3 separate regions of the Homo sapiens genome follow, and regions 1 and 3 are each linked to region 2. Evidence: promoter capture Hi-C in 16 types of primary human blood cells and fetal thymus (Javierre and others, 2016). All regions are on one chromosome and are shown on one strand. The core of a region is centred on a gene start or on the middle of the fragment in contact, and the rest is flanking DNA. Distances in the headings are between cores, read along the strand shown. Region 1 overlaps MIR31HG (MIR31 host gene). Region 2 holds the start of CDKN2B (cyclin dependent kinase inhibitor 2B). Region 3 has its middle 6.9 kb from the start of IFNA1.

The links. The method cuts DNA at HindIII sites, captures the fragments that hold promoters and counts their contacts. A CHiCAGO score of 5 or more calls a contact.
Region 1: a fragment that was not itself captured here is called in contact with the fragment with the promoter of CDKN2B in region 2 in 2 of 17 cell types (naive CD8 T cells and naive CD4 T cells); the score reaches 6.7 in naive CD8 T cells.
Region 3: a fragment that was not itself captured here is called in contact with the fragment with the promoter of CDKN2B in region 2 in 2 of 17 cell types (naive CD4 T cells and activated CD4 T cells); the score reaches 7.1 in naive CD4 T cells.

The regions. Positions count from the first base shown.
Region 1 is chr9:21,464,759-21,467,458 of GRCh38, forward strand. All of the region lies in intron 2 of MIR31HG (MIR31 host gene), which reads right to left. Among named protein-coding and RNA genes, the nearest start is that of IFNE, 16 kb to the right of the region's middle. RefSeq lists a silencer at 1,355-1,434. The HindIII fragment of the contact is 535 bases long and covers 1,083-1,617 here.
Region 2 is chr9:22,007,964-22,010,663 of GRCh38, forward strand. It overlaps CDKN2B (cyclin dependent kinase inhibitor 2B), which reads right to left and starts at 1,342. Exons shown (of 2, transcript NM_004936.4): 1 at 835-1,342. The coding sequence starts at 990. All of the region lies in intron 1 of CDKN2B-AS1 (CDKN2B and CDKN2A antisense cis and trans regulatory RNA 1), which reads left to right. RefSeq lists a silencer at 684-883. The HindIII fragment of the contact is 2,577 bases long and covers 632-2,700 here.
Region 3 is chr9:21,446,007-21,448,706 of GRCh38, forward strand. No RefSeq gene overlaps it. Among named protein-coding and RNA genes, the nearest start is that of IFNA1, 6.9 kb to the left of the region's middle. The HindIII fragment of the contact is 529 bases long and covers 1,181-1,709 here.

The sequences.
Region 1 (2,700 bases), core at 100-2,599, 540 kb before region 2:
GGATGCCAACGAGTTATAGATTTCATCTCTTGCCATAATCCCATATTTCTTGGAGGTTTTGTTTGTTCTTTTTTATTCATTTTTCTTTATTTTTGTCTGACTGAGTTATTTAGGAGAGGCAGTCTTTGAGCTCTGAGATTCTTTCCTCAGCTTGGAACTAGTGCAGTTGTTTGAAAGAAAAAAAGGAACTCTGGCTTTTTTGCTGGTTCTTTCTTGTGCTGGTTCTTTCTCATTTGTGTGGGCTGATGTTCCTTCAATCTTTGAAGTTTCTGTCCTTTTGATGGATATTTTCTTTTTTTCTTTGATGCCCTTGGGGGTTTGATTATGGTATAAGTTGGGTTTAGTTGACAGGCTTCAATATTAGTCTGCTCCTGGGTCTTGGAGGAGCCCCCCCGATTACTGCCTACATGCCTGTGCTTCTTTTTTTGGGTGTTTTGATCCGCAGGACTCCCTTAGGCAGGGCCACCATTGGCAGATATGCTGTATCCATGCCAGGTCAGCCCTAATCTGCTGTCTGTGTGCTTTCTGGGGAAACACAGGGTTACACCTGTCCACAGAGTTCAGGTGGAAGTGGGACCGCTGGGTTGGAAGTTCTAGCAGGTGTGGGCCATCTGGCTATGAGAGGTGGGGGTTGGTGGGGCTACCCTCCCTGTCATGCAGGTGTTTCCGGGGCAACAGGAACCTGTGCCGCTTTGCAAATTCAGGCAGAAATAGGACCACCAATCTAGAAGTTCTAGTGGACATGGCTTATCTGGGCTACCAGTGGCAAGGGTGGATGGGAATGCCTGCCCTGCTGTCTAGATGCTTCCTGGGAAAACAGGAGGCTGCACCCACTGTTTAAGTTCCCACAGAATTAGGAACACTGGGTCAGAAGCTCTGGCAGCTGTTGACAGCCTGAGTGCCAGTGGCCAGGGTGGGTGGGGTCACATGCTCTGTTCTCCTGGTGTTTTACTTGTTTTGCTTATAAAGGGAAATGTTCATTAAGATTCTACCTTTAGCTGGGTGTGGTGGCTCATGCCTGTAATCCCAGTACTTTGGGAGGCCAAGGCAGGAGGATCCCTTGAGCCTAGGAGTTTGAGATAAGCTTGGGCAACATGGCCAAATTCCTTCTCTACAAAAAATAGAAAAGGCATGGTGTACACCTGTAGTCCCAGCTACTTGAGAGGCTAAGATGGGAAGATCATCTGAGCCTGGGGAGGCTGAGGCTGCAGTGAGCTGTGATTGTGCCACTCCACTCCAGCCTGGGCAACACAGCAAGATCCTGTCTTAAAAAAAAAAAAAAGAAAAAAAAAGATTCTACCTTGAAGCTGTTTTCCTGGAATGCATCTAAATGGGAGAGTCCAGTTTGAACCAGTAGAGGGCAGAATAACATTTAGCATTCATCACTGGAATGTGTTTGCACATGAGGTGTATCAACAGTAAGGAAACAAAATAACTCTAGATATTCATGTGTCTTAGTAAGTACATTTGGTTAATTAACATAAGGCCATGTTATGTTCATCATTAATGAACCCAGCCAAGACTTTTTTTTTTAACCAACACTCAACTGCTTAAATGCCTTGCTCATCAAAGAGACACCAGAGAACAAAGCTAAGTTATAAAAAATAAGGATGGAAAAGCTTCCAAATATCCCTTAAAAAACAATTATATTGGAAGGTCTAATGGGGTCAGATTAGATAATAAATAACAATCTAGAACTAGTATTAGGCTAATATCACTGATTTTATGCTTACCTTTTAAAACTTTATTCTGTGTTATTTATTTATTCTAGATTCCCATAAATATATTTACCACTTAAACTGAAAGACCCATAGAAGACATTTTTAAAAATTATTTCCACACTAGTTTTTCCAATTGATAAGGTGATCAGTAACATAGATTTTTGATCCAACTACTGGGAACAATTTAAAACAATCTGTTCATCAATATTGAATAAGAAAAATAAACTATCATCTCAAATATTTTGATGAGATATTTGCAAAGAAATTATATTCAGTCATAATTTCTAAGACTTCAAATTAATGAGAAACAGATATGTGCAAATGAGATCAGGCATGTTTCTTTTTAAACAAGTGAAATTATAAACAAAAATATTCTTCTAAAAAATTAGGTAAAAGGCAGCAATGTCTACTTTCCCCTGAAATATTTAATATTGTGGTGAAATAATAACAATGTAAAACATTATGAAACAAGCAAGAGGAATTAAAGTTATAACATGAAGACAATTTGGTCATGTAGGGTAAAAATAAGGCTCCTTTTGTTCCCTCTTAATGAACATCACATCATAAATCTAGCCACTCTTGTATCCTCCTATTACCATAAATTGGTTTTTGAAGTTTCTGAACTTTCTATAAATGAAAACACATTTTAGTTTTTCTTTATATTTAGCTTTTTCACTCAATGTTATGTCTGTGAAATCATCCATACTGTTCATGTATGTTGAGTGTGTTGTTTTTTTCAAGTTTTATGAGCCATTTGGATAGTCTCTTTTGTGAAATTCCTGTTCCAATCTTTCTTTTTGGTAAGCACTTTCTCCTTTTCTTATTGATATTGATTTCTCTTTTTATTTTAGTTATTTTTATATATATCCTAGATACAACTACTTTGTTGGGTAAATGTATTGTAAATAACATCTTTCAGATTGAAGCTGATCTTTTTATTCACTTAAAGTTATTAATCTTAATGAAGACTAAGTTATCA
Region 2 (2,700 bases), core at 92-2,591:
GTGATAGTGAGGTGAGTACTGAATATGACCACTAGCCAACGGTAAAGTACAAAAGAGTTGTCCGAGATTGTAAAAGAAATAAAAAATATCAGTACTAATTAAAGCAGGATTCGTACTTAAACATTGAATAAGTGTATTTTAACAATGAAGATAAAGATGCATTATTTATGAAGATCCTTTGCCATTCAAAAAGGACCTAACAGTTGCTGCAGGAATATTTTTGTAATCTGGGCACTGAGTATGATAATTAAAGAATGAGAAACCTATAGAACTATATATTTTTTCTCTTATGCATCACTCATAAGACACTGCTAACATAAAAGGAACTAAGTACTGTGGTTGAGGAATCCCGTCTCATTCTCAATTAACCTCTATGAGAAAACAATACAACAGATTTCATATAGTAGCTTAGAAGTTTACATTGATTTTTTCCATGTACTATGATTTTGTAGAATTCCTTAAATCCAATCTAGAATGCGTAACTTATACTTTACTTATCTTTATCGTTGAAAGCAGACAGACAAGATAATCTTCTTCCCTAAATAAGCTTTCCTTTTCTCCTTTTCTCCCCAATTCAGTCTATTCCTTGCATCTCTGATCATGAGATGGCAGAACAAAAACCACTAAAAAAAGCTTAAACAGTGGGTTTTTCAATGTCTCTCTTTAGGATTTTTGCTGGGTAAAAGCCTGTTTTACGCGTGGAATGCACACCTCCGGCCAACGGAGACTCCTGTACAAATCTACATCGGCGATCTAGGTTCCAGCCCCGATCCGCCGAGGCCGCGCCCCGCGTTCGCGCGCCCCCTGCCGGCGAGGCCCTGGGGCCCCAGCTACCTGGATCGCGCGCCTCCCGAAACGGTTGACTCCGTTGGGATCCGCGCCGGCTTCCAGGAGCTGTCGCACCTTCTCCACTAGTCCCCGCGCCGCGGCGCTGGCCAGACCCTCATCGCTGCCGCCCCCACTGGGCATGCCCTTGTTCTCCTCGCGCATTCCGCAGCCCCCAGACGCGCAGCGGCCCGGATAATCCACCGTTGGCCGTAAACTTAACGACACTCTTCCCTTCTTTCCCACGCTGCTCCGGCGCACTCTCTCCTTCCTAGGAGACCTGGGCTCAGCTTCATTACCCTCCCGTCGTCCTTCTGCGGCTTGGGGCCCCGTGCAGTGGCCGAGCGGCCGGTCGTTAGCTCCGGGCTTTTCCTGGCGCTCAAGAACCAGCGGGCGCGCCTGGATTGCTTCTGGGAAAAAGCGCCTAGCGCGGACGCAGCCGAGCTCAAAGCCGCTCTGGCCGCAGGGTGCGGACGCGTCGCGGAGTCCTCACTGCCCCGCCTCGCTCTGGCAGAGTGGGGAGCCAGCCGGCAAAGAATTCCGTTTTCAGCTGGGCCAAGGGGCCGGCGTCTCCCCACCCCCTTAGGCTCCGCCCCCTGTCCGCTGTGATCGCCGGGAGGCCAGGCCCGGGCCGACGCGTCACGAGGGCGGGGAAGCCTGCCCAAAGATGCTAGGACGCATGCGCCAGAGACTGGGCCAGGGAGCCGCCAGGAATGCTGGCTGCACTGCTCGCTGGATGTCCAGTAAAGCCAAGGCTAATATTTTGGGAATGTTCACCACTGCCCTCAGCTCCTAATCCCCAGTAGGCGGAGCAGAGGATTTCTGTTCCTTCAGCCAGCCAGTTGGTTTCACTGTGGAGACGTTGGTGGCTCCCTTGTGACCGAGAGAAAGTCATTCAAAATAACTCCGTGTTTCTTAAGATGTCTGAAAGCGACAGCTCTGCACCTGTCATACAAGTTAAATTCATCCCCAGGCAGTACTTGGGCTTCACAAGTTTCATAACTTGTATCAAACTTAGCAATTTTCTCTTGGATGTGTCTTTCTGTTTGAATTAGTCAACCATAAAAATAGAGAAAAATCCCGAGAATCATGTTTTGCGTGTGCTTTTTAATTCTTTCCATTTTTGCATTATGGATACAACCCTTAAAAGAGAAAAAAACTAGTTCGAGATTGAGAGTGGCAACCTGGCACACATAAGACAAAAAAAAATTATACTTTAAGAATCTGAGATCCCAGTTTCATCATATTTGTACAGTAAATCTTTGTTTGCACTCTTACCTATTTAAACCCACTTTGTCAGGTATCTTATTTTTATTTATCATGAGTAATAAAGGAAATTTATGCAGTAATAATGAAACATCATAAGAGAGGGGTGTGGTGCTGGGCTTGTCATTAAACAGGCTGAACCTGTCATTAAATTCTCTTCTGAAGATTTAAATGCCAAGTGCTTTTTTTCCCCTTCCTAATCTTCCTAGGTGAGTTTGAATCAACATTTATTACTTAAAATATTTAAAACATTTCAGCGGATGCTACATTGGATAGGAAGAGAACCGCAAGTTATGGATTTGTTGCCTAAAAACTTTGGTGAGGAACTGCATAAGTGGACCTCTCCTAAAAGTGAACAATTTTTGTTTACAGAATCATTTTGGTTCGGAGTGCTGAGGAAGACAAAGTCTTAACAGGAGGGCAATTGCTTGTGTATTGCAAAATGAGAGTCTTCACATGTTTTTTTTAGGATACCTTAGCTCTGACTCCTCATCCCCCAAATCCCTGTAGAATTAAAAAAAGCTCTTTCTTTTAAAGGCAGTGGAAGTGCCACCACCATGGAAGTGCTGGTTAGGGCTGAAAATCTACTGACAGAGCCTCAACAGAGCT
Region 3 (2,700 bases), core at 195-2,694, 560 kb before region 2:
AAGAGTTTATTTTCTTAAACCTAAGTGAAATAGACATAGACATACTATTCATTTGCTGATTCCAATACCCAGCACAGTTCTCTCCTTCTTCCCCAGCTTTTCTGGATCTCATTCTTCACTCCTATTGAAGCTCGGAAAATAATACGCCAAAGTGAAGATCTAAGAAGCAGCCTCAGAAGCAAAGTTTCTCTCTGGCCTTCTCCTGCCCTCCTGTTTGTCACCCCTCATCTCCCGAGGCTAGCCATAAAAAGTAGAAACTCTCTTTCCCAAGGCTGGTAATAGAAACCAGAGCCCTTTCTCTCCAAAGCCAGCCATAAAAACCTATAAACATTACTTGAACTTTCCCTTACCTTTGTGTGTAAGAACTGAACTGGCCATAAAGAAATTCTCTGACCTGCCTTGTTTGATTGTAGATACTAAGACCCCCATTCCAAAAAGAGCTCTGCCACATACCCAAGAGGAAGGAATGGTGCATGGAGAGGCCAAGAAGTATCTGACCAGAAAGGCCTTGCTGGGTTTCCCCTACTCAGAATATTAGCATTAGATGATGCCCTTTTTGTCTAATCACATTTCTGCACAGCTGCCCATTCCTCATGGAATGTAAGCATAAAAATGGATAGTTTTTTCCTGTACTTTGGGTCTTCATTTTGAAGGCTTCCATAGTTATATAAAACGATGATTAAATAAACGTGCTATGCTTCTCGCTTGTTAACCTGCCTTATTATAGCCGTGTCAGCTGTGACCCTTTTGATAGGAAGGAAAGAGATCACACTATTTCTGCCCTTATAGTTCTGATGATGAAGATGGGATGTCTGAAGCACCTGACTCACCTATTGATGAGGTCCTGGGACAACTGATAAAGAGCTGGCAAATAAAGGTAAGAATTTTTACCAAGGTGAGTTCTGAATCTCTGCCTGTAGTTTCTGGTCAAGAACTAAAGGTAAAAATTTATCTTTATATCTTACTTTCCAAATGCAGGTCAGCAGGAGATCATTTGTTTGAACTGTTCTCTTATGTAAATTTGGATTTCAGGGACTCATTTGTTATTGATCCTTTCCCTTCAACGAACAGCTGTCATTTTCCTGTTTTGTGTCCTGAGAACCCAACTTGGCTTGCTGCCTGTCAGGACACACTTTGGTGTGTGAAGGGGGCTAAACAAATGTTGGAGGCTCCCATTAAAAGCTTACATATTGCCTATTGCCAGCTCTCAAGGCATCTAAATCTTTCTTTCTTTTGGCTATTTGTGGGGGTAGCTCTGAATTTTGAGAGGGCTGCATCTTTACATTTCTTTAATGATGTCTCATGTATCCTTGGTTAAGTCACAAAAGACTTGGTTTTGGTTCTGAGTCGCTTGGTAGGTATCGTTGTTTTAAAAGAAGAGAAAAAAAAGAAAGTTTCAAACATTAGAAATATTGGTTGTTTTTTCTTGCTGAAATCTGATAAGGGATTTAAAAGTATTTTTTTAAAAGAGCTCTGTGGTCAAATAATAGCTTAATTTAAAGCTGATATCCAGGCTACCATTTTTTTAAGAGTCTTTCTGATTTTCTCCTTAGGTTCTTGTTTATCCCATGGGAATTTTTTTCAGTAAACTTAAACTTTTTTTATTATAAACTTGATTCCTCTGTTTGCTTCCTTTCTTGTAGGCAGGATTTTTACCGGTTAAAAAAAAAAAAAAAAAAAAGAGTAAAACTTCATTGGCCTTTTTGGGAAGCTTAAGACCTACCCAGTCTGGCTCCTCTAAGACTTTTTCTTCCATTTACTTCTGTCCCTCCTTCCTTCTGCCACCTTCAATCTTCCATCTAGGTCTCTCTTATCATCGACAAGCCCCTGCCTCTGCATTTAGTGGTCAGTGGTTGGAAAATTACTAAGCAGAAACATCAGAGTTCTGGCTACCACATAAAGGGATGTAGAGAAGACTTCTAGAAAGCCTGGGATTCCTTGAAGAATGAAAAAAAAAAAAGGTGCCACAGACCCCCCCACTACATGGAGTCCTCTGTCTTCCTCAGGAACCCCAAGAGTCATGGGTGGGTCCTTCTTGCATCTGGAGCTCTGCTCTCCCTTGCCTTGAGTTCCCTGATCTCTTTGGCTTTTGGGGTATCAAGGGTAACTTCACACTGTGAGAGAGCCACCTACCTGCCAAGACCAGAGACAGTGGGCAAGTCTGTTCTCTGTATAAGTCTGTCGCCTTCCACCAGCTTTTTCTTCAGAGCTAAAAGGAGGAAATTTCCTGGAAAGAACTGACCCAAACACTGGAATGAGCCCATTTCTTTAAATTTCATGTCTTAGAGAGGGGATATACTCCCAGCTTCAGGCAGGACATGTCCTCTTTGGACAATGGGCAGCTCTGGGGAGAGAAAGGGGCAGGAGGTGTCCCTTGCCTCCAGCCTATGCAGCCTCCCAGGACCTCCTGACTCGTCCCTCACTCTACTTACTGCAGGTCACGTGGAAGTGAGAGCCACCCCATCTGACTGTGGCACTTCAAGGGAAATCAGGAAAACTGTCCTGATTGAAGGTACATTAACTCTTTAGCGTAAGTTGTCAGTTTTACTAATTTACTCCTCCTATCAGATCATGCCCCTCGACTTTATAATTGAGAAAATTCTTACTTTCCCTTTGAATAAGGAATGAGCTTGCATCAGTTCCATCTGGATTCAATAGTTTTAGAGAGCACTAACATAAAGTAACTTCAGAGAATATAGT